Regions from separate parts of the Homo sapiens genome. Here regions 1, 2 and 3 are each linked to region 4. Evidence: promoter capture Hi-C in 16 types of primary human blood cells and fetal thymus (Javierre and others, 2016). All regions are on one chromosome and are shown on one strand. Each heading gives the region's core, a stretch centred on a gene start or on the middle of the fragment in contact. The rest is flanking DNA. Distances are from core to core; before and after follow the strand shown. Region 1 has its middle 3.6 kb from the start of CDK19. Region 2 overlaps CDK19 (cyclin dependent kinase 19). Region 3 overlaps CDK19 (cyclin dependent kinase 19). Region 4 holds the start of GTF3C6 (general transcription factor IIIC subunit 6).

Region 1 (3,109 bases), core at 482-2,981, 140 kb after region 4:
CACGCTTGGCCCATTTAGTTTCTAATGATAATCATTTACTAACCATTTTGTGAGCATTGGGCCCACTCATTTCCCCTAAAAACGATTTACTACCAGCCGGGTGTGGTAGCTCATGCCTGTAATCCCAGCACTTTGGGAGGCCAAGGCAGGCAGCTCACCTGGAGGTCGGGAGTTGGAGACCAGCCTGATGAACATGGAGAAACCCCATCTCTACTGAAAATACAAAATTAGGCGGGCATGCGAGTGCATGCCTATAATCCCAGCTACCTGGGAGGCTGAGGCAGGAGAATCGCTTGAACCTGGGAGGTGGAGGTCGTGGTGAGCCAAGATCGCACCATTGCGCTCCAGCCTGGGCAACAAGAGCAAAAGTCCATCTCAAAAAAAAAAAAAGAAAGAAAGAAAGAAAGAATTTGGGGTGCGTCCATAGAGTAAAGTGAAAGCAAGTTTACTGGAGAAGTAAACAAAAGAATGGCTACTCCATAGGCAGAGCAGAGATATGGGCTGCTCCACTGAGTATACTTACAGTTATTTCTTGGTTACATGATAAACAAGGGGTGGATTATTCACAAGTTTTCTGGGAAAGACATGGGGATTTCCCAGAATTGAGGGCTTCTCCCCTTTTTAGACTCTATAGGGTAACTTCTCAAGTTGCTATGGCATTTGTAAACTGTCATGGCACTGGTAGGATGTCTCCTATAATGCATGCTAATGCATTATAACTAACATATAATGGGCAACAAGGAGACCAGGGGTCAGTGAGTAGACCAGAGGTCACCATCCTGGTTTTGGTGGGTTTTGTCTAGCTTCTTTACTGCATCTTATCAGTGGAGTCTTTATGATCTGTATCTTGTGCAGGCTTCCTATTTCACCATGTGACTAAAAACACCTAGCTTCCTGGGAATGCAGCACAGCAGGTCTCAGCCTTATTCTACCCTATTCAAGATGGAGTCACTGTGGTTCAAATGCCTGACAGTTATTTCTATCTTGATGCCCCCATAGGTACTTCCAATTCGACATGCCCCAACCAAGCTTATCTTTCTCTCAAAAATTGCTCCCATTCCTGTGTTTCCTAACTTTCTGAAATTTCTACCATATTGCTGAAGTCAAAATTCTCAAAGTTATCTTGGATTCTTCCCTCTCCTTTAGTCCCACATTTAATTAATTACTAAGTCTTGTTAAATTTTACTCCTAAATAATTATAGTATGTGCTTTTTTCTTATAGTGCTGCTCTTCCGTGGTTCAGATCCTTGTTTTTTGTTTGTTAGTTTGTTTTGAAACAGAGTTTCGATCTTGTTGCCCAGGCTGGAGTGCAATGGTGCAATCTTGGCTCACTGCAACCTCTGCCTCCCAGGTTCAAGTGATTCTCCTGCCTCAGCCTCCTGAGTAGCTGGGATTACAGGCATGCGCCACCACGCCCGGCTCATTTTGTATTTGTAGTAGAGACGGGGTTTCTCCGTGTTGATTAGGCTGGTCTCAAACTCCTGGACTGAGGTGATCCGCCCACCTCGGCCTCCCAAAGTGGTGGGATTACAGCCATGAGCCACTGCACCCGGCCCAGATCGTTGTTTTTACCGTCCTATTGCAATAGCTTCTTTGCTAGTCTCACCTTCCTCCAATTGAACCTGAACACTTTTGTCAGAGAATTTGCTTAATACTCAGGGCTGATTATAGTTCTCCTTAGCTCAAAAGTGTGTAATAGCTTCCTATTGCCTACAGAATTGAGAAAAGAAAAAAACTTTCATTTGAGGAATGTGAGGCCTTTTAAATTATAAGGCACAGAGAGACATTAAAATAATACAGGAATTAGGCTCGCGCCTATAATCCCAACACTTTGGGAGGCCAAGGTGGGCGGATCACTTGATGCCAGGAGTTCAAGACCAGCCTGGCCAACATGGCAAAACCCTGTCTCTACTAAAAATACAATTAGTTGGGCTTGGTGGCACATGCCTGTAATCCCAGCTACACAGGAGGCTGAGACAGGAGAATCACTAGAACCCAGGAGGCAGAGACTGCAGTGAGGTGAGATCGCGCCACAGCATTCCAGCCTGGGTGACAGAGCAAGACTCTGTCTCAAAATAAATAAATAAATAAATAAATATATATATAAATAAGATACTGGAATCAGGTGATACTTTCCCCTTGAGCTATGTATTCATCTCCTGAAATGCTTGCTATTGCCACAAGTAGCTACAAATTAATCCAATAATGCTGCACCAGATGCTATAACCCACACCCTATATCTTAACAATGTATAGCTCATTCATTAATCAATGTTATTCCTGTAAACCAATGAGAATTCCTCACAAACAACTTTGAGCCCACTTCCTATCCCCCTTTTTTTGCCTTTAAAAATCTACTTGCAACTGCTCCTGATTGGAGTGTACATTCAGGGCAACTTGTATCTATACTCCTGGGTTGCAATTCTAAAGCTTGGCTCAAATAAACTCTCTACTTATATTAATTTTGCCCCAGCTTTTTCCTTTTAGGTCGACAGAATAATGAAACCTAAAACCTCTCCCTGACATAAATAGCTTTTCATAATTTGACCTCTGCTTATCTGTTTAGTATTTTCTTATCCATTACTTTTTCCTGTCTTAATCTGTAATATTCAAACTAGTTGCATTTCTCAGAATATATGATGTTCTCTCATGATTTATGTACATGCTGTTCTACCTGAAATAATTCCTTGTTTCTTGCTCTTCGACTTGTCCTTCAAGTAAAGGCTTACTCATGCTTTAAATTTTGGCTCTCACTCAGCAGATGGGGCTGGAGTGAAAAAAAAATTTGGCTCAAACCTACCTACTTCATGAAGTCTACCCTGACTCACTTAGAACCCCGCCTATTCTACCAGTGCTCTTTTAAACCACAGTTTATTTTTAATTTGCTTGCATATTTGTTTTTTCAGGTTTAATTCCCCAATGGAAAAAGACTAATTTTTTTCCTGCTATCTCCAGCAGTTATTATAGTGCATGGCAACAAGAGCAACTGAGATTTTTCTTGATTAAAGATACCATTTTTTTTTGAGTCGGGGTCTTGCTCTGTTGCCCAGGCTGGAGTGCAGTGGCATGGTCTCAGCTCACTGCAACTTCTGCCTCCCGGGTTCAAGGGA
Region 2 (3,505 bases), core at 779-3,278, 230 kb after region 4:
GGCAGAGCGATACTCTGTCTCAAAAATAAATAAACAAACAACAAAATAACATAAAATAAACTCCGTTTAATTTTTCCACTGTTCTTTATCTTAGTGTAAAAGTGTCTTAATATTTATCATAGTATGAGTACACAGTTTTTTTCAGTAACCTCTTGTCCAATAGAAGGTAGACATTTTAAATAATCAACATATATTTATTTAGTTCTACAAGCAATGGTTTGGGGGAGCAAATTCAGTTAACGGTAAAAAGCATGGGTTTAGTACCTGACAGATTTAGGTTCCTGTCCTAGCTCTTTTACTTACTAGGTCTGTGATCTTGTATAAATTACTAATCTCTTTTCACCTGTAAAAATAGGGAGAATAATAATTATTTATCTGTGGAAAGCACTTAACATAGTGCCTGGCATATAGGGTTCATTAAATATTAGACTATTATTATTAATCATTCAGGAGGTATACATTGCCTATTCTATGTGCTAGGCACTGTCTTTCAGAAGAGATTGTTAATGAACAAATATTCACACGAATATTCACACAAGATGATAAGAGCTAAGGAAAAGCTAGTATCATGGCAGGATAACAAGAGAAAGATTATCTAACTTTAGGGCATCAAGGAGGATTTCCCCAAGAAAGTAACATTTGTGCAGAGATTTGAAGGATGAGTGGGAGCTCATTAGGCAGAGTAGAGGGAACATTGTGTATAAGCATGACGCAGCATGCCACATTTGAGAGTATAGGAGATGCTGGTGTGCCTGAAGTGATGAGTGAGGATGAAAGTGACCTGAGAGGGGAAGACCCCCTAACAGGGCCAGGTCACATGCAGCTGTGTGGGCTGTGTTAATGATCTTGGGTTTTAGCAGGGAAATGACACAGTCAAATTAGTTTTTTTTTTTTTACCACTCTGACTATGGTATCAATAGATGAGAGTAAAGATAGAGGAGAAGATGTAGGGAGAGTAGTTAGAAAACCTCTGCAGCAATCAGACTAGGGAAGATAGACAGAAGTGGAAAAAAACTTAGAGATTTTTCCTGAGGGCAGATGGGTAGAAATTGATGAATTGGATATAGGCAGCAAGGGAGAGAGGTGGCAAAGATTTCCGTTTTTTCTGGCTTTGGCAGCTAATTTGACTTCTAATAGATAGCATGTGCTCTTTCTCTCTCTCTCTTTTTTTTTTTTTTTTGAGATGGAGTCTTGCTCTGTCACCCAGGCTGGAGTGCAGTGGTGCAATCTCAGCTCACTGCAACCTCCGCTTCCCAGGTTCAAGCAATTCTGCTGCCTTAGCCTCCTGAGTAGCTAGGATTACAGGTGCACGCCACCATGCCCGGCTAATTTTTGTATTTTTAGTAGAGACAGGGTTTCACCATGTTGCTCAGGCTGGTCTTGAACTCCCGACCTCGTGATCCCCCACCTTGGCCTCCCAAAGTGCTGGGATTACAGGTGTGAGCCACCATGCCTGGCCTTTCTCATTTTTTTTTTTTTTGAGACAGGGTCTTGCTCAGTTGCCCAGGCTGCAGTGCAGTGGCAGGATAATAGTGCTTTGCAGCCTCGATTTTCTGGCCTCCAATGATCCTCTTCAGTTTCCTGAGTAGCTGGGCTGGGACAATAGGGATTTACCACTATGCCTGGCTAATTTTCTTTCTTTCTTTCTTTTTTTTTTAGTAGAGATGAGGTCTCGGTATGTTGCCCAGGTTGGTCTCAAACTTCCGGGCTCAAGCAGTCTGCCTGCCTTGGCCTTCCAAAGTGCTGGGATTACAGGTGTCAGCTCCTGCACCTGGCCCAGTCGCTCTTCTTGAGAGAGGAATTCTAGAAGAGAACTAAGATGGAGAGGGCAGACAGAGATTTTCTTTTAAAAAAGACATCTTGAGTTTGAGAGTCCATTGAAACATTTAAGAGGAGGAAGAGACAATTATGATCTCAGTAATGAAGAGGATTATACAAGAGCAATATATGACATGCTTCTTTCCATCATGAACCTTATATGCTGGTCCAGAAGATAAGACACATTTTTGAATATAATTAATACTACAAGACTGTGATTGAAGGCATTCTGAAAGAGTAGGTACAGTAAGTGGAGTGAGGCCACTTTGGACATGATGATCTCAAAGTTTCAAAGATAAGGAAATACTTAAGATGGGCTTTAAAGGATTAGTAGTGTGGGAGGGAGGGAAAAGCACTCTAACAGTAAATGGAAAAATAGGTAGTTAGTGAAAGGGGTATGGCGAGGGTCTGGGTGGTTAGTTACTAGTTATAGAGCAATTTAGTATTCATCATAGCTCAACCAAGAATCTTTTGTATGTAATAATTTGACTTTTATAATGTGTTTTCATATATCTCATGAGAAATGGTCTTATATAACCTAATTCTGTCTTATGTCTCTGTCTTTCCTACTTATTGAAAAGTTCATATTATTGAAACCCAGTATTCTATTGTTGACCTATAATAAAACTATAAATATTATTCTCTGACAGAATGTTATGAAGATGTGCCACTGAATAATAGTTGTTCTTTCCAGCTTGATTATCTTAGAGGAAAAATGGCATGTGATTTAATTTATACGAGAGTACCTTGTAGACTTTATGGGATTATGAAAATGCAAAGTATTATTATTAATCCTTCCATATATTCCATGTTACTCTTCAGAACTTAGAAGTAAATATTTTTTGCTCTGTAGCAAAATGACTGCAATCAGTGGACTTTTTTCCAGCACCTTTGTAAAGTCTGGAGTCTAAAAAGCCCAGCTCTCTGTAGGCCAGGTTCATTTTTGGAAGTGTGTAGTGATCTATCTTTCCCACTCAATTGTGGTTTTGTTTGCTATTAACAAAAATATAGTTTTTTTGTTAACAGATAAAATTATAAGTCCAAACCACTAGTTCAAAATATTTTTCTAAATTAATTAAGATTTAAGATCCCTCCCCACCCTATTCACTTAGGTATCTATAACTGGGGCCATTTTCTAAATGGAACCTTTTCAGGCATTACTTGTATATCAATTATTACTTAATAATCCCCCCATTTTCTTTAGGCTTGAGTTGAAAGAACACTTATATTTGATTCAGATGGCTTTCTAGGACTATGAATAGAGATAGTGTTTCAGAGTTTCAACACACATCAGTGTCCTTTCCTTTCTGATTTTCTGGGACAAGGACCTGGTAACATCTGTTTATTCTTACTCAAAATGCTTGCATTAATTTACCTTTGCTAATTATCTCCTAAAGTATTCCCTAATACTTTCCTTCCCATCTACAGAAAAAGTATGTGAAATGCTTTTGCTGCATGATTATAACATGATTATAACAGTTGCATCATGAAATACTAGGATTATCTTTTTTTCCCAATCAGATAAGATAGTTTCCTTTCATTTTTCTTTACCTTATTGTTCTTTGAAGCTACTGGTGTTTTAAAAATGGTATTAAAATGTTGTTCCCATAGCAACACCCTACTAGTTTCTTATGGAAAACATGGCGTGTTTTACAAGTTGGATTGAAAAAAAAAGAAATGCTTTCTG
Region 3 (3,336 bases), core at 226-2,725, 210 kb after region 4:
CCAGAGCCAGGAGGGCGCGGTGGTACAGGCCTGTAATCCTAGAACTTTGGGAGGCTGAGGTGGGCGGATCACTTGAGTTCAGGAGTTCGAGACCAGCCTGGCCAATATGGCGAAACCCCATCTTTACAAAAAATACAAAAATTACCTGGGTGTGTGGTATGTGCCTGCAGTCCCAGCTACTTGGGAGGGTGAAGTGGGAGGATCATCTGAGCCCATGAAGTTGACACTGCAGTGAGCCCAGATCGTGCTACTGTACTTGGGGGACACATTTGTCTCAAAAAAAAAAGGAACATAGTGTCTCAGATGGAAGACCTAATAGAATTGGTCTGTGTCAAATTTATTTGTTCTATTTTGTTACGTAATGTTCACATCAAACAATTGTTTTTCATTGTGACTGCTGAGAGTGAAGTTTTCATGGTGTTGCTACATGTTATAGACATATAGAAGAAACATCTTGATATTTAAAAATTCTATATAGCATTTATCCATGTTTATAGTACAAATACATGTATTTTTAATTCTTCTGGATGCATTTAGTAAATTCCTCTGATTAATTTCAATATGCAGTTGCTCTAATCATACTATCTAATATACACGAAAATGTAGAAAACAGTTTCTCTGAAGGCTTTGGAATTGCTTTGTCTATCTTTATGTTATTTAGAAATAAAAGTAATTTGGAAATGAAATAGTTTTAAGGAGGAACTAAGCTGCCTCTAAAAGCTGGATTATCATAGCAGTGTAGGCTAGGCAGGTTCACCTGCTTTTCAGCTTTGTCATGTAAAATAAAAAATTGTTCTTTTATGATATTTAATATTACATGTGCCTGAAACATCTAAGCTGTGAGGTATGAATTCCTCTACTTGGAGGAACTCCTGGAGAGGGGCACTCACGTGGGATGAGAGCAATAAAGCTTCCCTGTCTCATGTGCCTAATCATTGAAATATTTCTAGACGTTGTGTTAAAGGATGCATGTTTTGTCTTCAGACTAAGGTGTTGGCATATGCCCAAAGATTGGCATTCACGTAGTACAGTGCCAAGAAGTCCCATATGCCCTCTGGGACCTTGCAACTTCTTCATATGGTGAACCTTAGAGATGCTGCATCATCACTTACCATCTGACAGTTAGTTTACAAAGAGAAATAGTAATGATATATGTACTTTCTTTCATTCTCAATTTAAATGTTGCAAATAAATCTTAAAATTGCAAATTTTTTAGTATTTTATTTTAGCAGGTGGAAGTTATATTTAAACTTATTAAGTGAAATAATTACTGGGTTTGTTCCTTGTTCCTGTCCACATAATTTAGAGTAAAAGGCCTATGCTCAGTCTCTTCTGTTCAAGCTTTCAAATTCCTTTGACAGCCTGGATGTGAAATTCAAAAGCCATTAATTTGATGTGTTAATTTTGCACTTTTTGACTTACTGCAAAGATCTTATAGTTTCCATAGCAACTATAACCTATCCAGATTGTGTAATATTCTTTACAGTATTAAAAATAAAACTATGCAATTACATGAGCTTCTGGACTACTTTGTCTAGGGGAACTGAGGATTGAAATGTTTCTGTTGAAAAAATTATAGTTTCATGTGAAAAATTTTTTAGAAAGCTTTTATAATTTTGTTTCAAGAATACATCAAACTTAAATATTTAGCAATAGATACCTGATAGATAACTTAATTATTAAATGTATAAAATTTACATCGTAAGCATTGTGTTGAGCTTCTCAGGCACATGTGCTCTCACTCTGTACCCACAAATACATTTAAGGCACAGGAGGGACACTTGGCTTTGATTACATTCAATCACCTGCAGTTTATGCTTCTTAATGGCTTCTGAGTGGTCTGAAAAAGTCTGGTTTTATGTCTGGGCAAAAAACAGGATGGAGAAAAAGGAAAAAATGATCATTTAAACTTTCCTTATTTTTGACTTTGCTTTTTAAAACATGCCTGAGCTATCACTTTGAAAATACTAAAGATTGTTTTAGTAGGTATTCTCAGAGTATCAATTTATTTTGGCTTTTTAAAGGCAATATAATATTAGCACTAAAGTTAGTTGACATAACTTCCTATATCTTAACGTAACTGTTAATTTTTTGTATTGCCTTCAACATATTTGTAGATGTATATTTTTATATAGTATAATTTGTGTATTTTCTCAGTAGTATATGGTAAATATTTTCCATGTTTCTAATGACCTTCTAGCCATCATTTAAAAAATTGCATCATAGTCCATCTTGTTGACATACCTAGTATGTTTTATTTGTCAAAATACTGTTTAATTATTTCCTGAATGCTATCTGTTGGAAGAAAAATGGATATAATTTTCAAACTCATTGTGAGGGAAAGTAACCATAACTCAATTATTTGCTTGAAGATGATTGTGAAAATCTTCAAAAGGGATTTAAAATGGTGTTTTAAAATGTGGATTTTGAATAACATCCTAAACTGCTCTATCTGCAGGTAAACATAGAATGGGGAAAATGAGGAATAGCTAAGACAGATGTGGCACTACTTTGGCGCTATATTTGACAAAAACATCATGACATGGTGATACTTTGCTGAGGCTCTAATATGATCAAAAGACAAAACTTGGAAGGCATGGATTTAACTTCTCTTATAAGAACAGCTCACAATATGAACTATAGTTATGACATTCAGCTGAGACCTTTGTGTGGCTGGTTCTGGTATCAGCACCCTTGAGAATGCTTACTGTACTTACTGTATTGTACTAGCTGCTTATCTCATACTGTTAATATTTTAACAGAATGTTTCACCAGATTTTGAACTGCTGTATTCTCTTGGTTAAGCAACTTAGTAACTGTTGGGATTTCCCAGGATTCCTAATACTATGTCCATTGTTTGAAAAATCCACTTTAACTACTGGGTTTCTCCTAGTGTTCCTGAGAATGACATGTTGGTGGCTAGAGCTTTGAAATCTTTAAAAGGCTTTTGATTGAGGTCCTCGGGCTTTTGAATGTCCCCATGCTAGGTGAGATACAGTGTGTTTTAGTGGGTTATGATTCCTATAAAGCTTCTTATACTATGAAATTACTTTAAATGAATCTGGGAGTTTATGTCTGTCAGTTTTTTATAGTGAATGTCTATAACAGAATGCTTTTGTTGACTCCAGGTAATTAAGACAGGAGTGGAATTATCTTGCAATATGTTTGAGTTTATATTTATGCTTGTTTACTCTTTGAAACTAGTGCTGTGTTTAGTATCCTGTTCTGTTTCAATTTTGAATTTTGTGTTTTCGCTGTGTCTGATGTTTTCATTGTGACATGAATTTCTTTTGGTATCTCATATTTCTGTAGTTGAAATATTATCAAAAATAATAA
Region 4 (3,590 bases), core at 745-3,244:
CAGTGGATACATGAGATATTTATTATGCTTAAGTATGATTGAAATAGTTCGTATTAAAAAGGGCTGGGCTAGCAATCACTTACCATGTTCAACATTTTCTTCAAATATAACACAGGTCCCTAGAGTGTCTGCAGAAAAATACAAAGGCAAATTGTTGAGAAGAGCTACCATCTCTGAAAAGCCCATATCAGAAAGAGTTCCATCTATCTGACATCCTCCTACCTTCATACTCCCCAGCAAAGACACAGCTGTCCACTTGCAGAATGGGCCTCTCAGTGTCAATGCCCTACAACAGAATAAAGGATCATAAAAAAAAAACATAATTAGAAAAAGGCTTCAACATTGTAACCTTGCTACCAAGGAAACTAATCTCCAAAACTGGGGAACCTCTAGAGCATCTTGTCCTACCAAGTACAGGATAAACTACAACTGCTCTGATCACAGCAGTTACAACCTGAAGACTACTTAATTCATACTCAAGTAACAAGGTTTATTTCAATCAACATCCTGTTCAAGAGTAAGCTAAAAACAGAGGAAGTTTTGTCAACAGTAGTGCAAAGAGTCTATCTGTCATCTATTTATTTTTTGAGACAGTGTCTAGCTCTGTCACCCAGGCTGGAATGCAGTGGCATGATCATGTTCAGGCAATCCTCCCACCTCAGCCTCCTGAGCAGCAGGGACCACAGGCGCATGCCACCATCCCCAGCTAATTTATTATTATTATTATTTTTTTTTTTTATTGAGATGGAGTTTTGCCCTTTGTTGCCCAGGCTGGAGTACAGTGGCGCGATCTCGGCTCACTGCAACCTCTGCCTCCAGGGATCACGCGATTCTCCTGTCTCGGCCTCCCGAGTAGCTGGGATTACAGGCGCCCACCACCATGCCTGGCTAATTTTTGTATTTCAGTAGAGACGGGGTTACACCATGTTGGCCAGGCTGGTCTCGAACTCCTGGGCTCGTGATCTACCCGCCTCGGCCTCCCAGTATTGGGATTACAGGCGTGAGCCACCGCGCCTGGCCATTTTTTTTTATTATTATTTTAGAGAAGGGGTCTCGTTATGTTGCCTAGGATGGTCTCCAATTCCTGGGCTCAAGTGATCCTCCCACCTCTGCCTCCCAAAGTGCTGAGAATACAGGAATATATGTACGGTTCCATATCACAATGTTACTTCCTCCAAATCTGTAACTTTCTCTTCAGCCACACATTCAAACAGGCAAGCAAAGTTAGCCATTTTCTCCTATCTGCTCCCATAGTCCCCGCTGTACTTCTACATTATACTTAATTACATATTAATTAATTATACTTAGTATACTTCTTATCCTTAGAGTTCACTACTTTGTAAGGTGAAATAAATATATCAATACTTGCGGATAGGTATTTCACCATTGATTCTTGTTTTACATTTAAGACACTCTAGAACAATCCCCCCAAGTCTAGAAAACTCACCAAAACCTTGCATTTATTTTCACATTTTGAGAGGAAGTCTGAATCAATAATTCCTGATAATTCCACCAGAACCAACTGCTCCTGGTGAAAGAAAGAGGGGTTAACATGCTAGCACGCGAGCGGCCAAGAGGGAGCAATTAGCAAAAGAAGCCAAATTTCCCACATTTGTGAAAACCGGACCCTGTTTTCAGCAAGAGGAAACTACGCTACCTAAGGTAACTTCCCGGTACTTCCCATCCCAAGTACGGGGTGACGATTAGGGCTAAGGTCCCAAGCTGCCCGGCTCCTCGCGCCCAGGAGCAAGAAGCCGGTGAGGAGCAGTGGGGCCTCCCTCCGGCCCGCAGCTCCCCAACTCCCTTCCCCACACACAGCCAGCACAGGCATCACCGCCACTGCGGTGCAGGCTTTTGGCGTAGCGCTTACTACCTCCTCTTCCTCGTCTTCTCCGTCCTCTGGACTCCGCTCGTCCGCCGCCGCCGCCATGGTCCCGCGGCGCCTCGCCTTCTAGTCACTGGCCACGCCCGCCCGGAGCCGCCATCTTGAGTACGGGCTTCAGCTCCGAGGCGAAGCAGCTTATTGGGTTCCTGCCGCTCCGCTCCTCGCCGCGCAAATTGCTTCTGCCAGAACTCGAGATGTCGGCTTCCGGCGGGCGGGTGGCTACGGGCGCCGAGAGCGCCGGTACCCACGTGGAGACTCGCCACGGGCCTCCTCGTTTCTCGGTGCCTCAGAGCAGGGGCTGGGGGTGGGCTGCCGTAGGCAGCGGAGCCCGCTCGGTCACGCAAGAGTCGCCGGGCTCTCGGCCCCGCTGGCGGGGAGGACTGGCAAGGCAGAAGGGATAAAGGCGAAAACAAGGAAACCATGGTTTCAGGCGGATCATGGACAGAAAGGCCTTGTGTTTGACCCGAGCACATTTCTTGGAAAGAAATTCTTAATATTGTGTGAGCGCTCATCCTCAATTCAACGTACCCCAAGCCAAGTTAAAGGCACATTCAGTTTAATACTAATGAGCGCCTACACAGTAAAAAGCACTGCACCAGGAGCTATGAAAAATAGAAAGTGGGCTTAAGTTTCAGGCCTGCAGGAGCATAAGATCTGTGAGAGGTACATAAATGGATCCAAGCAAGTGCTGTAAGAGATACACATTGTTATAGGAACACAGAGACCTGGGCAAGAGAAGTTTGAACAGAATTTTCAGAAGTATCCCATAGATGTTTGTGATTGTGAAAGAAACGGTCTTCGTACTTGCGATAGCGTGATCTAGTGGTTAAGATCGTGAGTTTTGGATTTTTATTTATTTATTTATTTGGAGATGGAGTTTTGCTCTTGTTACCCAGGCTGGAGTGCAATGGTGCAATCTCGGCTCACTGCAGCCTCCACCTCCCGGGTTCAAGCGATTCTCCTGCCTCAGCCTCCCGAGTAGCTGGGATTATAGGCATGCGCCACCACGCCCGGCGAATTCTGTTATTTTTAGTAGAGACGGGGTTTCTCCATGTTGGTCAGGCTGGTCTCGAACTCCCGACCTCAGGCGATCCCCCTGCCTGGGCCTCCCAAAATGCTGGGATTACAGGTGTGAGCCACCGTCCCCAGCCTGAGCTTTGGATTTTAATACCAGTCAAGTTCTGCTGCATTATTAACAGCAAGGCTTTGGGCAGATTGGTGGTTGTGAGGATTAAATGAGACAATACATATAAAATAAATTTAGCCCAGTATTCAGCACATAGTAAGCATTTAAAGTGCATTTAATCTATTATTAGTAGTAATATATAAATTTTTTAGTATGATGCTCTTTCTCTCTTTCTTTTATTCATTGTTTGTTTCTTTCTTTCTCTCTTTCTTTCCTTTCTTTTTTGTGACAGGGTCTGGCTCTGTCGCCCAGCCTGGAGTGCAGTGGCGCCATCGTAGCTCCCTGTACCCTCAAACTCCTGGGCTCAAAGGGAGCCTCCTACCTCTGCTTCCTGAGTAACTGGGACTACAGGTGCACGCCACAGCGCCTGTCTTTACATAATGGTTGTATGAGTGTGCCATAACTTGATCCTCTATTTTTTAACACATAGGTTATTTACAATTTGTGGATATTGTAAATAACACTCTTTTGTGTATATTTTTGTCCAGTTGCCTAATTAAATGTATAGGATTTCATAGC

What was found. Contacts are between HindIII fragments. The CHiCAGO score rates a contact against its expected background, and 5 or more counts as called.
Region 1: a contact is called between a fragment that was not itself captured here and the fragment with the promoter of GTF3C6 in region 4, in 1 of 17 cell types (megakaryocytes). The highest score is 5.6, in megakaryocytes.
Region 2: a fragment that was not itself captured here is called in contact with the fragment with the promoter of GTF3C6 in region 4 in 4 of 17 cell types (megakaryocytes, neutrophils, M1 macrophages and 1 more); the score reaches 8.3 in megakaryocytes.
Region 3: a contact is called between a fragment that was not itself captured here and the fragment with the promoter of GTF3C6 in region 4, in 1 of 17 cell types (megakaryocytes). The highest score is 6.4, in megakaryocytes.

What each region holds. Positions count from the first base shown.
Region 1 is chr6:110,817,522-110,820,630 of GRCh38, reverse strand. It overlaps a transcript of AMD1 not described here. Among named protein-coding and RNA genes, the nearest start is that of CDK19, 3.6 kb to the right of the region's middle. The HindIII fragment of the contact is 1,400 bases long and covers 1,032-2,431 here.
Region 2 is chr6:110,725,963-110,729,467 of GRCh38, reverse strand. The region is part of intron 2 of CDK19 (cyclin dependent kinase 19); the gene reads left to right. Among named protein-coding and RNA genes, the nearest start is that of CDK19, 88 kb to the left of the region's middle. The HindIII fragment of the contact is 5,536 bases long and covers 1-3,505 here.
Region 3 is chr6:110,746,332-110,749,667 of GRCh38, reverse strand. The region is part of intron 1 of CDK19 (cyclin dependent kinase 19); the gene reads left to right. Among named protein-coding and RNA genes, the nearest start is that of CDK19, 67 kb to the left of the region's middle. The HindIII fragment of the contact is 264 bases long and covers 1,344-1,607 here.
Region 4 is chr6:110,957,110-110,960,699 of GRCh38, reverse strand. It overlaps GTF3C6 (general transcription factor IIIC subunit 6), which reads right to left and starts at 1,994. Exons shown (of 6, transcript NM_138408.4): 1 at 1,874-1,994; 2 at 1,448-1,528; 3 at 223-286; 4 at 84-128. The coding sequence starts at 1,930. RefSeq lists an enhancer at 1,672-2,121. The HindIII fragment of the contact is 8,604 bases long and covers 1-3,590 here.